Regions from separate parts of the Homo sapiens genome. Here regions 1, 2, 3 and 4 are each linked to region 5. The links are contacts of gene promoters, found by promoter capture Hi-C in blood cells and fetal thymus (Javierre and others, 2016). All regions are on one chromosome and are shown on one strand. The core of a region is centred on a gene start or on the middle of the fragment in contact, and the rest is flanking DNA. Distances in the headings are between cores, read along the strand shown.

Region 1 (2,700 bases), core at 13-2,512, 250 kb after region 5:
GAATGGCTGCCCTCGGGGAGGGGGACACGTGCTCTAAGCAACTCCAGGGAACAGGAGTGGGCCAGCTTGGAGGAGGGATATCTGTCTCTCGCTTGACCGTGGGCTACCCTGTGAGGTGGTGAGCTCCCTGTCCTGGGAGGCATGGAAGCAGAGACCCGCTCACTGGGCTGCAGCCCCTCATAGGGGCTTCCAAGCACCAGGAAGTGAGTGGCTGTTGCCCCCTGCCCCACCCCTCCTGGGATCCTGGTTCTGCCCACAGCTCTGACTCAGATGCAGCTCCCCGGGGGGTGAGAGGCCCACGTGCGGTGGCTACAGGGGCAGCATCTCCACGACGCCCCTGTGGGGCCATCTCCATGTTCACTGTTTGCAGACACCCCTGTGGCTGAGCACCCGATGCACTCGGCCAGCTGGCAGGGCCAAGGGTCGATGGGGCGGCTCCCTGCTGGTTGGGACTTGCACGGCCCTGAGCAGGGGAGGGGGGCGGGGCTGGCAGGGTACCTGGTGCAGGTGCTGGAGGGGGATGGTGGGGCGAGTTTCTCCACCTGGGTGAGGTGGAGCCACGGAGACTGCTTTTCTCCAGAACCAGACGAGCTCCAGCTCCCAGGCTAGGTGGGTGCCAGCTCCTCTCAGGTTGGAGGCTGGGCAGGGTGGGGTGGGGTGGGGTGGGGACTGGTAGCCCAGGGGTCCAGGGCCCAGATGGCTGGATGCACAGCTGGGGCAGAGGCAGGAGCCATGCCAGGACTGCAGCCTGTAAGCCGGGCACAGGTGTCTGAGGGGAACATTGCAGAGACGCAGCCTCCAGGTTCCCAGCCTTCCAGGCAGCCTTAGAGAGTCGGGGGCTCCCCCACAGCGGGGTCTGGGCAGCCACCGCCCTGCCTCCCCTTCCTCACTGAGCCACGGGGTGCCTTGTGTTCCCTCCAACCTGGCAGGGAGGCTGGGGCAGGGGGGCCTGATCCAGATACCCGGCCCCTGGGCTGTGGGGAGGAGGGTGGAAGGAGGCCCATCAGCAACACACAGAGGCTCCCATCCCAGGGACGGCACAGTCCAGCGGCAATATTTCTCCAGGGACCCCAAGCCTGGCTGGGACAGGGGCCGTGCCTTGGGCCTAAGATGAGAGAGCTCTTCTGAAGGGAGGGAGGAGGGTGGTAACCAAACCCAGCCCCCGCCTGCCCTGCATGGCCCCTGTGACATTCCCAATTGCTGGGGACTGACTCACCCCCACTTCAAAGGCCTTAAATAGTTCAGCTATTTCACCTGCCACACTGTGCTGTCACTCTGGAATTCTGCTGTGTGGGAGCTGAGGCCCCACCTGCAGACCTGCTGCTCACCTGGGCAGGTGCCTCCTCACAGCCCATCTGCACAGCTGGCCTGCGGAGTCCTCCTCAGGGGCCACTGGCCCTCACCTGCCACTGTTGAAGGGATGCCTGCCCCTGCTCTCCCCACCTCAGCCATGGCCGTGCAGGTGCCCCTGTGGCACCACTACCTGCAGGCCATCCGGTCCCGGGAGGCGCCGCGTGCCCAGGACTTCCAGCGCGCAGAGAACGTGCTGCTCACGGTGCTGGAGCGCGTGCATGCCCTGGACCCCCGCTTCATCGTGGACTACTCCCGTGGCCTGGAGGCCTTCCAGTTCGCCCTGCGCTCCTCTGAGGACCCAATGGACATGGAGGTGCCCCTGTGGGTGGATGCCGAGGCTCTACTGATTGAGGAACCAGAGGCCACCCAGCCGGAGGATGGCCTTGAATTATGCCACCTGGGTGTGCCCAGGGAAGGGGCTGGCCTGGAGCGGTGGACCACCGAGGATACCTTCACTGCCTCCTCGGAGGGTGACGCCAAGTGCCGTGGACACATTGTGCCCAGCAAGGTCCTGTGTGTCCTCAAGGACCTGCTGGTAGCAGCCATCGTACACTGCAAGCACCACAGTCTCATCGCACCAGGTACAGGCACAGCCCACTCTGCACGCGTATCTGCGTGTACCGAGGGGCTGCTGTGTGGGTGTCTGTGTGCAAGTGTGTGAGTGCACATGTGTGTGATTGCCATGTACGTGCACACAGGGTGGCGACTGTCTTCTGTGTGTGACTGCACGCACAGGCATGTGTGCACGTGTGTGACACTGTGCAAGTGTGAACAGTGTGTTGGGGCACAGAAGTCGGGAGACCTCACTTAGGTCTTCCAGCTCCAAATGCCTGTAACAAGACAGATGACGTGTTCCGTGTCGTGTGTGTTTGCACGGGGGTTCCACGGCTGCCAGTCGTCCAGTGGCTGGAGTCTGGGGCAGCTGCTTCACTGGTGGCCTTGCAGGAGGGTCCCTCACACGGCTCTGGGCAGGCGGCTCTCTTGCCAGTCACAGCCTGTGACCTCGAGGCTCCCCGAGGCCATCCCGTGCCCACTTCCAGTGTCTGATGATGTTGCACCAGGTGGGAGGGGTGTGTGTGTGCCTGCCTGCGTGCGCGTGAGTGCAGGGGTGTGAATGCGTGTGCAGGTGTGTGCCCGTGTCTTATCAGCTTATGGCTGAGTTGTCTATTGGTGTCTTGAGCCCCAAGTGGGCTCTGAGGCTGGGCTTCTGCGTGGACCAGGGGCTGGCCTCAGTCTCTCCTCTGGGGCCTTTTGTTTGTTTGTTTGTGAGACTGAGTCTCACTCTGTCACCCAGGCTGGAGTGCAATGGCACGATCTTGGCTCACTCCGCCTCCTGGGTTCAAGCGA
Region 2 (2,700 bases), core at 188-2,687, 180 kb after region 5:
AGCACTGAGGACCAAGGCCTGGGCCAGGCCTCCATCCACCACTGCCTGGCCGTTCCATTTCCAGGCCCAGGCTCCTCACCTGAAAACCTCAGACCCAGCGGGCACCTCCCCAGCACAAAGCCTGGCATGTAGGGACACTGACTTCAGCCCTTCCTGAGAGGCCCCTTCTGTGTCTGAGCCACATGGAATGAAAAGTGGTCTTGGAGCAGGACAGTGTGACCCTATAAAGAGCCCCAAGGCTGGGCCAGGGCCGCCCCATGCCTGCCGCTGTGGCCTCAGCAAGAAGAAAGGGCCTAGACTTGGGGCTCTGCCCCCCACTCGCTGTGCCCCCAGGGCCAAGTCCTCAGTTTCCCCAACCTGTAAAACAAGGGCTAGAACCACCGTAAGGACAGCTCTGCTAAGGACGACCCCAGTCCCGATGACCCCAAAGCCGCCTGCCACAGCCCAGCCTGCACCTCTGCCCCAGGGCCCCACCGGGCTGGCTCCAGCCCCGAACACCCACAGAAGCCCTTGCAGACCCCTCTCTCCCACCTCCCGGCCCTGTGGCCTCCCTGCAGGGTGTGAGGGTGACCGAGAGGCCTTGTTCTTGTGCCCCACCTGGGACCCACCCTGCCGCCTGCCCCACCTGCAGCCGCCGCTTCTCCTGGCCTGCCGCACGCACGCTCGCCAGGTGCTCCAACTCCAGCCTGCGGAGCGCCTCCTTCTGCAGGGCACGTGCTGCCCGGGCGCTGCTCAGCGCGCCCTCCACCCGGCGCTGGCCTGTGGGGCAAGCAGGGTGGCTTGAGGGGCCCCCATGCCCCTCCCAGGTCACAGGCAGGCAATGCAGGGCTCTGTGGACTTGAGTGACTGGCTCCCACGTGGAGGTGGGGGTCCATCCTTGCAGCTCAAGGGTCCTGGGGCTGCCCCAGGGTCCCGGCTTCCCACCCATCCTTCCCTCCTGCCTCTTTCCTTTAATTGAGGGGCAATAAGCAGAGAAACTCGTGAGTGTGAGGCAGTGGGGGGCAGAAGGAAGGGGCCTCTCTGAGGGGGTGACGAGGGGCAGGGCCTGCCCGGGGAGAGCCGTGTGGCTGTCTGGGGGAGAGGGTGCCAGGCAGAGGGCACAGCCAGGGCAAAGGCCCCCAGTGGGAACTGCAGGAGGCCAGGGTGGGGCAGGGGGGCAGAGGATGCTGGGGGCCGGATCGGGAGGGCCCTGATGGGCCTGTGGACGTCACTCCTCTGTGCTGGGGAAGTCGCTGCTGAGAACTCCGATGCCAAGCGCTGACCCAGCCTCGCCAGGCCTGGTGGTTTGGGTGTTGCCCCCAGGCTCCCTTCCCACCGAGCTGCCCCAGGGACTGAAAGCTTATAGCCGGCAGCAGTGGGGACATGGTGGTGCCACTCTCACAGCCACTCCCAGGGTGGGCGGGGCAGGGCAAGGGAGGTCACCTTCTTCCGCCTCAGCCAGGGCTTTCTGCAGCTGCCCCACGCGGCTCTGGGCCCGGGCACACCTGCACTCTGCCTCGCTCAGCCGGCTGCTCAGGGTCGCCATCTGGATGCGGGAGTCATCCTGGGCAGAAGGACTGAGGTCAGCGGGGGCAGTCCAATGGGCGGGTGGAGGGCCAAGGTGTCTGCTAGAGGGTCGGGGCCAGCTGGGGCCGCTCACGGTCTGGCCTGCAGGTGTGCAGGGCAGGGCAGTGGGTGGTGTGGGCCGTGGGCTCGGGGAAGGTGCGGGGAAGGTGATCACACTGGGAAGCTGCGCTGACCTGCAGGCCTGGGGAGGTGGAGGCGCCCAGTGAGACTCGGCCTAAAGGGTCCAGGTTTCAAGCACAGGTGTGGTGTGGGAGAGCTGGCAGGTGGCGGCCCACAGCCTGTGGTCAGGGGGACCGGTAGGGGCTGCCCCTGGCGGGACTTGGGGCTGAGTGCAGACGGGACCCTGCCCCCTGGGGCTGGCAGCGGTGGGAGGGTGGGCCCGAAGGGAAGGAGTGTGCACAGAGGACCCTGGCCAGGGCTCAGGGCCTGCCTCTGTCTTTCCCACAGTCCTGCCCACTGGAGTCATCCAGCGAGGTGGGAGGGGGCCGCTCACGGGTGGTTCTGTGGGAGCCCTGAAGCCAGGAGCAGCCACTGGGGAGCTTGGCCCCACCGGAGGGGTCTTTGGGAGCATTGAGGGGAGCTTGCTGGCTCTGTCCTGCAGTTGCCCAGCCCCGGCAGCTCTTCAGGGGTGGCATGAGTTGCAGAATGCCCTACCCTGGGCCCTGGTGGGTGTCACAGCAGGGCCTGGCTCCAGGGGCTTTTCAGCCTGGTATAAGGAAGGGGGCGGCCTCCAGCCACCCAAGGCACTTGGGCTTGGGGGCCATGGTGGTGCTGGTGTTTATCACAACAAACAGGACGGCCTGGACACTGACCCTCAGACCCAGGGACGCGCGGATGGATGGACAGCAGGTGTTCTTCCCAGAGACCCCCGGGGGGTGCCGCCGTGGGCGGGAGGACCCCAGCCCCCATTACCCGCTCCCGCTGGGCTTCCCGGAGCTTCTGCACAAAGTCCCGCAGGATGTCCTGCACGGTGGCCACATCCATGAGCTCTGAGCTGCGGCCTCCGGGTGTGGGCGAGGGCCATCGGAGGGGCGAGTGGGGCCTGGCTGGGGGGCTGGTACCCTGTTGCCCAGGGAGAGCCTGGGAGCTGTCGGAGCCTGCGGGAGGTGACAGCGGAGGGGTCGTGGACAGGAA
Region 3 (2,700 bases), core at 5-2,504, 200 kb before region 5:
AAAATGCAAAATATTAATGAGGCTTAAGGAGGAACCTGTCATATTTAAGCTGACACAATGTTAGTAACTGCCTGTCTTCCAGGCTAAGGGACAACAGGGCCTACCTCTGACTTCTTGATATGTGCACATCACCTTACACGTGGTGCCCGAGAGCCCCGCCATCGCCATCCCCGCCCTGCATCTGCATCTGCATCTGCGCCTGCATCCTTGCAATCATCTCTTGCATGCGGCGGAGCTGTGAACACACACACACATTATAGGTTTTCAAGGTTTGCTGTCTTTGAACATTATTTCTGGGTGTTCTGTGATTCCTAAAATTTCAACTTCTACACCTTCCCAAAATATGACAGGAGTTATTACATAAAGACTTTTTACCAATCAATAAAAAAAGCAACAGCTAAAGAGAAAATCAAGTAAATGATACGAATATGCAAGCCAAACAGAAACAATAACCAAAGAAAGATAAGACAATATGATAAATTTTCTTAAGACAGAGTCTCACTCTGTCTCCTAGGCTGGAGTGCAGTGGCGCAATCTCGGCTCACTGCTACCTCCGCCTCCCGGGTTCAAGCGATTCTCCTGCCTCAGCCTCCTGAGTAGCTGGGATTACAGGCACACACCACCACGCCCAGCTGATTTTTGTATTTTCAGTAGAGACGGGGTTTCACCACATTGGTCAGGCTGGTCTCAAACTCCTGACCTCGTGATCCACCCGCCTCCGCCTCCCAAAGTGCTGGGATTACAAGCGTGAGCCACCGCGCCCGGCCAATATGAGAAGTTTTCTAACCTAAAAGGAGGGAAAGAGACTGATGACAGTGAGAAATGCAAAGTAAAGGGGAATGGGAATGAATCAGCTTTTCTGGAGGGCAATGAAGGCCTCACAATAAAAATAATATATATACATACATATACATATATATATATTTTTTTTTTTTTAAAGGGATGGGATCTTGCTCTTTCACCTAGGCTAGACTGCAGTGGCACAATCATAGCTCACTGCATCCTTGAACTCCTGGGCTCAGGGGATCCTTCTGCCTCAGCCTCCCGAGTAGCTGGGACTACAGGTGCATGCCGACATGCATGGCTAATTATTTTTTAATTTTTTTCTAGAGAACGAGGGGGGTCTCACTCTGTTGCCCTAGCTGGTCTTAAACTCCTGGCATGAAGTGATTCTCCCACCTTGGCCTCCTAAAGTGCTGGGACTATAAGTGTAACCCACAGTGCCTGGCCAAAAATAGTAAATGTTAATTCATCTTTATCCTTATCATTATGATTTGTATGTGTTCAGAAATGCCTCCAGGAAAGTATTATAAAACATTTAAATTTTCTTCAGGTGACTTTGTGGTTATTTTTAACATTTAAATATTTGATCAATATTGAATTAATTTGACCAAAGAAGTATTTTCTTTTTGTTTCCAAAAGGCTAGCCCATTATGATCCTATTGTTTACTGAATAATGTGTTTGCCTTCCAAAACTCCAGCAGATCTGAATGCCACCTTTACAACAGAGCATATTTCCATATTTATGATCTACTTACAAATATCAGTGACATTACTAAATTGTCTCCAAAGTCTTTCAGCTAAATATATGAAGCATCATGTATGCTATGTAAATATCCATGTTTATTATTATATATAGATGTGTATATATAGTAATAAAGTAGTTATATGTATCCTCCTCAACAAATTAAAAAAAAAACTATAAACTTTAAGTTAATTACCAATGATATCTACGGATGTAAACAAAACACCTTCAGTCACAAGAATAGTACTTTTTGGCTGGGCACGGTGGCTCACACCTGTAATCCCAGCACTTTGGGAGGCCAAGGTGGGCAGATCACCTGAGGTTAGGAGTTCGAGACCAGCCTGGCCAACATGATGAAACCCCGTCTCTACTAAAAATACAAAAACAACTAGCCAGGCATGGTGGCGGGCACCTGTAGTCCCAGCTACTCGGGAGGCTGAGGCAGGAGAATCACTTGAACCCGGGAGGCAGAGGTTGCAGTGAGCCGAGATCACGCCACTGCACTCCAGCCTGGGCAATGGTGCAAAACTCTGTCTCAAAACAAACAAAACAACCAACCAACCAACCAACCAATAGTACTTTCCTACTTACCTCAGCTTCTTTTTCCAGCAAGATCTGGTCTTTATTCATGTCCTCATTCTCCACTTTCCTAAGAATCGAAAGAAATCAGAATCATAACACTGCAACAAATAGTTATTTGCTACCCCCCCAAAAAATTCTACTTTAAAATTTAAAATGACATGTATTTATCATTTCTCTTTTTATATTGAGATGGTGTCTCACTCTGTCGCACGGGCTGGAGTGTAGTGGCATGATCTTGGCTCACTGCAACCTCCACCTCCTAGGTTCAAGCAATTCTCCCACCTTAGCCTCCTGGGTAACTGGCATTACAGGCACGTGCTACCACGCCCAGCTAATTTTTTTTGTGTTTAGTAGAGATGGGGTTTTGCCACGTTGGCCAGGCTGGTGTTGAACCTCAAGTGATCCGCCCACCTTGGCCTCCCAAAGTGCTGGGAATACAGGCATGAGCCACCACGCCCAGCCTATCATTTTTCTAATTAAAGATATAATGAATAAAAAGGGAACAGAATGATTTTAAAAAGTTCGAACAACATGAAATGGAACATTCAAGAGACTTTTCTTACTCTAAGCTTGAGCGACAACACTTGCTGTTA
Region 4 (2,700 bases), core at 77-2,576, 150 kb after region 5:
CTGGAGGGGACTCTACTTGAGGCTGGCCCAGCAGTTTTCTAGATATGATCTGGGGTGTTTCAGGGAACCACCAGGTACCAGTGCACCGTGGCCTACTCAGGGCGAGTGCTCCATGCAGTTACCAGGTGCATTTCATTCCCTGGGCTGCCATAAGGGCTTGGCCTGGGGTCACACTCTGGGAGCCATGGAGACAGAACCGGCACTCGGGCCTGTTCCTTCAGCTGAGCTGAGCCTGCTGTCATGAGTCCCTGGCCCCAGGAGTCCCACTGGGAGTCCTGTTTGGAGAGTCTGAGCCTGAGCGGCCAGCCCCCAGACTGCGGAGAGGACGGCAGGGAGGGGCAAGCCTGTTGCTAGCCCGCCTAGGAGGGTCAGCGAAGAAGCAGGCCCTGCCCTGAGCGCCTGGGCAAGGGGTCCAGCCTCCTGGCTCTGGGCCGCACTGGCGTCCACGGGGGGCGGGGCTGAAATGGCCCAAGGAGGGGCTGCAACCTTCGCAGGCCCGGCGCCCCACTTGGGAAACTGAGGCCCGGGAAGCCCGTGCCCACGGCCACATTGCCATGTGTGAAAACCAGGGCAGTACCAGGACCCCTGCTCTCCCCTGGGAATCAGGCGCCGGGAAGACGCGCTCGGCAGGTCTGGCAGGGGCCGGGGCGCCGCGCTCCACTCGCCCCCGCCTCGGTGCCCGGCGGCTGCCGCCCCCGCCCCGCCCGCGCGCCTCTCCCGCGGGCCGCTGTCCGGCCTTGGCCGCCGAGGAGGAAGCGCTGTCCTCATTCCACCTCGGGCCGCCCCGGTGCCAAGTGGCTGGCGGCGGCGGCGGGAGTCCGGGCCCGGCGGGCAGCGGCCGGGGCGCAGCTCCCTCCCCTCCCGGGCGCCCCGCGAGCCCGGGGGTTACTCACGTAGAGTCCGGAGTGCTCGGCACCGAAGAACGGGAAGGGCACCGAGAGCGGCCGCAGCCCCGAGCCGCCGTCGTCCTGCTTGGGGGTGACGGCGTCGCCGCGCTCGGCGCCGAACGGGTAGAAGTCGGCAAGGGCCACCGCGCCGCGCACCCCGCGCGCCCCAAGCCCCAGGGCCGCGGCCACCAGCAGCGCCCAGGCGACGCCGTGCCGCATCGCGGAGGTGTGCGGGCGGGACGGGGCGCTGGCGGAGCAGGGCGCTGGGGGACTAGGCTGCGCGCGGGGGTGGCCGGCAGGGCCAGGCGGGGTGCGGGGAGCGCGGGCGCGCCCGCTGGCCGCGCCGTCGGGGGCTCCGCGTCCCGCGCCCGTTCGGCCGGGCCGCGCTCTCGCCGCAGCTCCGCAGAGGAAAGCGCCGGGCGGGACCGCGTTCGGGGCCAGCCCCGCCCCTGGGGCCACGATTTAAATATCCAGCCCGGCGGTCACTCGGGGGGGCGGGGCCATGCAAATCGGGCGTCTCTTAAAGCGCCAGGCCCCGTGGGAGGGCGCGGGCGCGCGGGGAGCTCAGTCCCCTGGCGTGGGCACAGGCAAGGTGAGGGCTCTGCGGGCGCGCGCCCTGTGGTGGGGCCATGCTCCGCCCTGGGTCCCTACCCTGGTGGAGGCGCCTGGGCCCTCAGTGCCGTCCTGGGACAGACCTGTGTCCCTAAGGCCTGAGACGCTGGGCCCGCCCTGAAGGCGTGTCATCACGCGGGGGGCGGGAGGGGACCCTGGCCAGGCAGTGCCTGAATGAACCCGTTCCGTGCTGCCCCCTTCCCAGCCCTGAGCATGGGGACGCCAGGCTTCCAGCCACAGGGGCAGACTAACCCCGGAGCCCACTCCCTGCCTGGGTCTGTGTGAGGAAGAGCCCGGGCCGGAGACTAGGAGGCATGGAACAAAGTGTTTGCATCTGCGTGGCCGCATCAGGAGAAATTCCTGGGAGGCTCGGGACCTCGGGGCGACCCCTGGGTAAAGCAAACCCTCCGTGGGGAAGACTGACCCACTCAGGCCCTGGGGGCAAGTGCGTGCATGACACCGGCCTTGGCAGGTGGGGGCAGGACTCTGAGTCCCAGTATTTGAATTCAGGGTCCCCACCCTGTGGCCTGCCAGCCCTGCCCCCTGTCTCTTGGGCTGCTGGCCTGGGCTGCCTGTCTGTCCTTCCTCAGGGCCTCAGCCGGGACCACCTCTATGTCCCCAGGCCCATGGCAGGGTCTGATTCCTGGAACTCACCCGGCCCACCGTGGTCTCTTCTCTTAGATCCTGGTGTTGGGTGGTGTTGGCTGCGTGCCACACTGGGGCCCCCAAAGATAAGAGTGCACCCCTCGAAGACAAGCAGGAAAGGCCGGGCTGATGGTAACTGCATCTACCACTGAGGTGCTGGGTGGTTTTTTGTTTGTCTTTGCGTTTGTATCTTCTGAAATATCTCAAGTGAGCACGTGTTGTTTTTCAGTGAGAGCCAGGCACAGTCAATGTTATTTTTAAGAAGCAGCGGAGGGTTCTCTGCGTGTGACTGGGTGTTGCCGGTTCTCACAGATCCTGCACTTGGTGTTTTCACTCAGAGGTTCATGACCCTTTAGACTTGGTGTCAGGGCCGGGTGCAGAATTGTTAAGGAGGAGCTGACCCTGCACTGGCACCTCCTGAAAGCTTGCCCCTGGCGCCTCTCCCACCCTGCATGGGGTGGCAATTCTGTTTGCAGAGAGGCAAACTGGGCCTGGGAGGGGAAGGGCTCTGTCCCGCAGTTAGCCCTTAGGTCACCGTCCCAGCTTTCAGAGCTCC
Region 5 (2,700 bases), core at 196-2,695:
GCGCCTCAGTTTCCTCGTCAGCTGACCGAGGAGGCTCCCCCGCCCGTCAATCTCAGAGGCTCGGGGCGAGGCTCCAACTGGACTGAATGGAGCCACCGCGTCCCATTCAGCCCCACCCCCGGCCTGGCCTCGCGCCGCCGCTCTCCCCCTAGCTCTGGGTCCTTCCCGGCCGCTGCCGCCCCCGGGCCGGGGCTCCCCCGAGGTCCAGCGCCTCCCCCGCTCCCCCGGGTCCGGCTGTCAGCTGTCAGGGGGCCGCGCGGCGGCGGCCAGAGGCAGGACGTGGAGTTTCTCTCAGGCACGGAGCAGTTCCAGCCCGCAGCTCCCCCCGCCCGCTGGGCCCTTGGGCCGCCGCCCGCAGGGGCCGCTCACCCTCCATCATCTCCTGCGACTGTTGCTGCCCCGCGCCGCGTTCCGCCGCCATGTTGGCTGCTCTTCCCCTTTCCGGAATCTGTCGCCTCAGACCCCTCAGCCAATCAGGGCTCCCGCCTCAGAGCCGGCCCTGCCAATGGGATTCCGGCGCGGCGACTTCAGCCGCGCCGCGCCTGCGTGGGCCCAGCGCCTCATGGGAGTTGTAGTTCCGTCATGAGGCCGCGCGCCGCGCCTCCCCCAGAGCAGGTAATTTCAGGCGGCGGAGCCGGAACAGTCTGGAGGCGAGAAGCTGGGAAGGAAAGCAGAGGGAGTCGAAGCGGGACGCACAGAGCCGTAGCTGCAGGCAGACGGAGTGGACGTCTAGGCAGAGTGGAGAGACGCCCTGGGCTTGAGAGTTGACTTATGTCACTGTCTCGACCTCGGAGGCGTGGAGGGGCCGCGGGCCAGGCGGATCTTTCCGTGGCTGCAAGGTGCGGGCCAGTCCTACGTGCATCCCTGACCTCTGCGAGCCTCGCTGGCTGCGTCTGTACAATGGGCCGAACGGCAAGAGCAACAACATTCTCCCGGCGTCCCCGCGCGGATTTTACCCATGCGAAATGCCGCCTTCTCTTGACGCTCGGAGCAGGCGGGCAGGTGCGGGGCACTTGCGCTGGTGGGGCCGCTAGCCAGCTGGCTGGCTCCGGGGCGCCAGCTGGGCTCCCCTTGCAAGTCGTTCCCAGCCCAGTGCGGACGCTGCAGCCTTCGTCTACCCTGCGGAGCCACCCGGCCCATGAACGAGCCGCCCCGCGTCCTCCGCCTTCAGAAAGAGGCCTCCAAGAGGCGAGCTCTGCGCTACTCACCCATTTTGATCGCGAGTCGGGAGGAAACCGCATCTGCCCGGCCCGGGGGCGGAGGCGCCCATTATTCCTTTGGCTCCTCCGAAGCGCCGTAGGGGTGTTTGGTGCGTCCCTAGCAACCCTTAGCGCGGGCTTCTAGACTCTGGCTAGCTTAGTCCCGCCCATACGCGCAAGTGGCTGGTCCGTGGAGCTTGTCAATCGGTGCTAGTCGCTGTGCGATTGGTCGGTGGGATAAAAGCGCGGAAGGGCTCCTTTCCGTGGTGTGTAGCCGGCTTGGCGTGACCCTCGCCTGATCCAGGTGAGATACCTGCGCTCGGGAGAGCGGGCCGGGCTCCGCCATCTCCCCAGGGCGGCTGTGGGGCCTGCGCGGCTCCGCGCCCCTGGCCCAGGAGGATCCGCCGCCCGACTCTTAGACCAGCCCGACCCCGGGTCTCCCGCCCCTGCGCCCGTCGCCCTTCGCGCACCGCCGAGCCCGCGTCCTCTCCGTGCCCAAATCGCGGCGGGGTTGCGGCCGTTGGCCCTGGGCCCCGCGCCCCCAGCGTCTTCGGGGTGCCCTTCAGTGTAGCCTGCCCGGTGGGCGCCGAGGCCCCGCGCCTCGGGTCGCCTCGGGACCCTGCGCTCTCTTCACCGCAGCCGGCCCTGCGGGGCGAGCTCCAGGAGAACCAGCCCGGATCCCGCCAGCCTCCTGCACTGGGCGTGTGGGTCCCTGCGGGCTCAGCCGGCGCCGCGGGGTCGGGGGCGCGCGCCGCCGGCGCTCGTGGTTACAGCAAAGACCTGGACTTGAGCCTTAATTTTTTCACTAATTTTTCTTTCCCAGAGTACGGCAGGGGCCTGCGCTGCCGTCTTGAGGCCTTTCTCGTCCTTACCTTCCGCATCTCAGTACCATTCGATGTCCATTTTTCTCTTAGGGGTTCCCTCTCTTCATCTTTCTGCTGCTACCTTAATTTAAGACTTTATAATTTCTTGCCTGGATTACTGTAGCCTTTCTCCTGCTTTCCAGCCTTGCACCGACATGGTCCCTGGAGTAATCTTTGTAAAATGCATATCTGGCCATGTTACTCCTAAGCATTGAATCCTTAAAAGTTCATTTTGGGGATAAAATTAAGACTTTGGGCAGGCATAGGAGGCTCTGGGCTCATGCTTGGCCCTTCCAGGCCCACGTCCACCTACTCTTCTGGGTACTGAACTCCTCTCTGGGAGGCTTTGCCTCTGAAAGACTTCTTCACTCTGCTTGGTAGGGCCCGGCTCTGCAGGTGCCTCCTCCAGGACTGACATCCTTGCTGTGTTCTACTGCACTGTTCACCTTGTTGGCCTCATCCTGAAACTGGTTCTCCTTTTTGTTGTACAGCTGTGCTGACAGCAATGGGAGCTGTTTGCTTCTTAGCTTATGTTCTGGTGGGAGGGGGACAGTTGCTTCTAGAAGTTCGCCGAGATGCTCCCTGCAAAGTTGTCCTTGCTTCTGTTTGGTCTGAGGTGGGGTCACTTGTGTCTTCTG

Evidence for each region. Contacts are between HindIII fragments. The CHiCAGO score rates a contact against its expected background, and 5 or more counts as called.
Region 1: a contact is called between the fragment with the promoter of MAB21L4 here and the fragment with the promoter of PASK in region 5, in 8 of 17 cell types (naive CD8 T cells, total B cells, non-activated CD4 T cells and 5 more). The highest score is 9.7, in naive CD8 T cells.
Region 2: a contact is called between the fragment with the promoter of UICLM here and the fragment with the promoter of PASK in region 5, in 4 of 17 cell types (naive B cells, total B cells, naive CD4 T cells and 1 more). The highest score is 8.4, in naive B cells.
Region 3: a contact is called between a fragment that was not itself captured here and the fragment with the promoter of PASK in region 5, in 1 of 17 cell types (neutrophils). The highest score is 5.2, in neutrophils.
Region 4: the fragment with the promoter of SNED1 here is called in contact with the fragment with the promoter of PASK in region 5 in 2 of 17 cell types (naive CD4 T cells and non-activated CD4 T cells); the score reaches 6.2 in naive CD4 T cells.

Annotation. Positions count from the first base shown.
Region 1 is chr2:240,894,718-240,897,417 of GRCh38, reverse strand. It overlaps MAB21L4 (mab-21 like 4), which reads left to right and starts at 1,262. Exons shown (of 5, transcript NM_001085437.3): 1 at 1,262-1,934. The coding sequence starts at 1,421. RefSeq lists enhancers at 91-726, 1,999-2,634. The HindIII fragment of the contact is 9,523 bases long and covers 1-2,700 here.
Region 2 is chr2:240,966,188-240,968,887 of GRCh38, reverse strand. It overlaps UICLM (up-regulated in colorectal cancer liver metastasis), which reads left to right and starts at 1,437. Exons shown (of 9, transcript NR_033841.1): 1 at 1,437-1,561. It overlaps CROCC2 (ciliary rootlet coiled-coil, rootletin family member 2), which reads right to left. Exons shown (of 32, transcript NM_001351305.2): 25 at 2,479-2,663; 26 at 1,423-1,543; 27 at 626-759. The HindIII fragment of the contact is 9,726 bases long and covers 1,341-2,700 here.
Region 3 is chr2:241,347,608-241,350,307 of GRCh38, reverse strand. SEPTIN2 (septin 2) reads right to left here. Exons shown (of 13, transcript NM_004404.5): 11 at 2,117-2,174; 12 at 105-235. The coding sequence ends at 134. Among named protein-coding and RNA genes, the nearest start is that of FARP2, 7.3 kb to the left of the region's middle. The HindIII fragment of the contact is 2,849 bases long and covers 1-2,678 here.
Region 4 is chr2:240,997,244-240,999,943 of GRCh38, reverse strand. It overlaps SNED1 (sushi, nidogen and EGF like domains 1), which reads right to left and starts at 1,326. Exons shown (of 32, transcript NM_001080437.3): 1 at 894-1,326. The coding sequence starts at 1,106. RefSeq lists a silencer at 1,275-1,694. The HindIII fragment of the contact is 12,687 bases long and covers 1-2,570 here.
Region 5 is chr2:241,148,217-241,150,916 of GRCh38, reverse strand. It overlaps PASK (PAS domain containing serine/threonine kinase), which reads left to right and starts at 1,445. Exons shown (of 18, transcript NM_015148.4): 1 at 1,445-1,503. PPP1R7 (protein phosphatase 1 regulatory subunit 7) reads right to left here and starts at 450. Exons shown (of 10, transcript NM_002712.3): 1 at 370-450. The coding sequence starts at 421. RefSeq lists silencers at 29-368, 1,499-1,858, 1,919-1,978, 2,029-2,078 and enhancers at 659-818, 2,332-2,491. The HindIII fragment of the contact is 12,026 bases long and covers 1-2,700 here.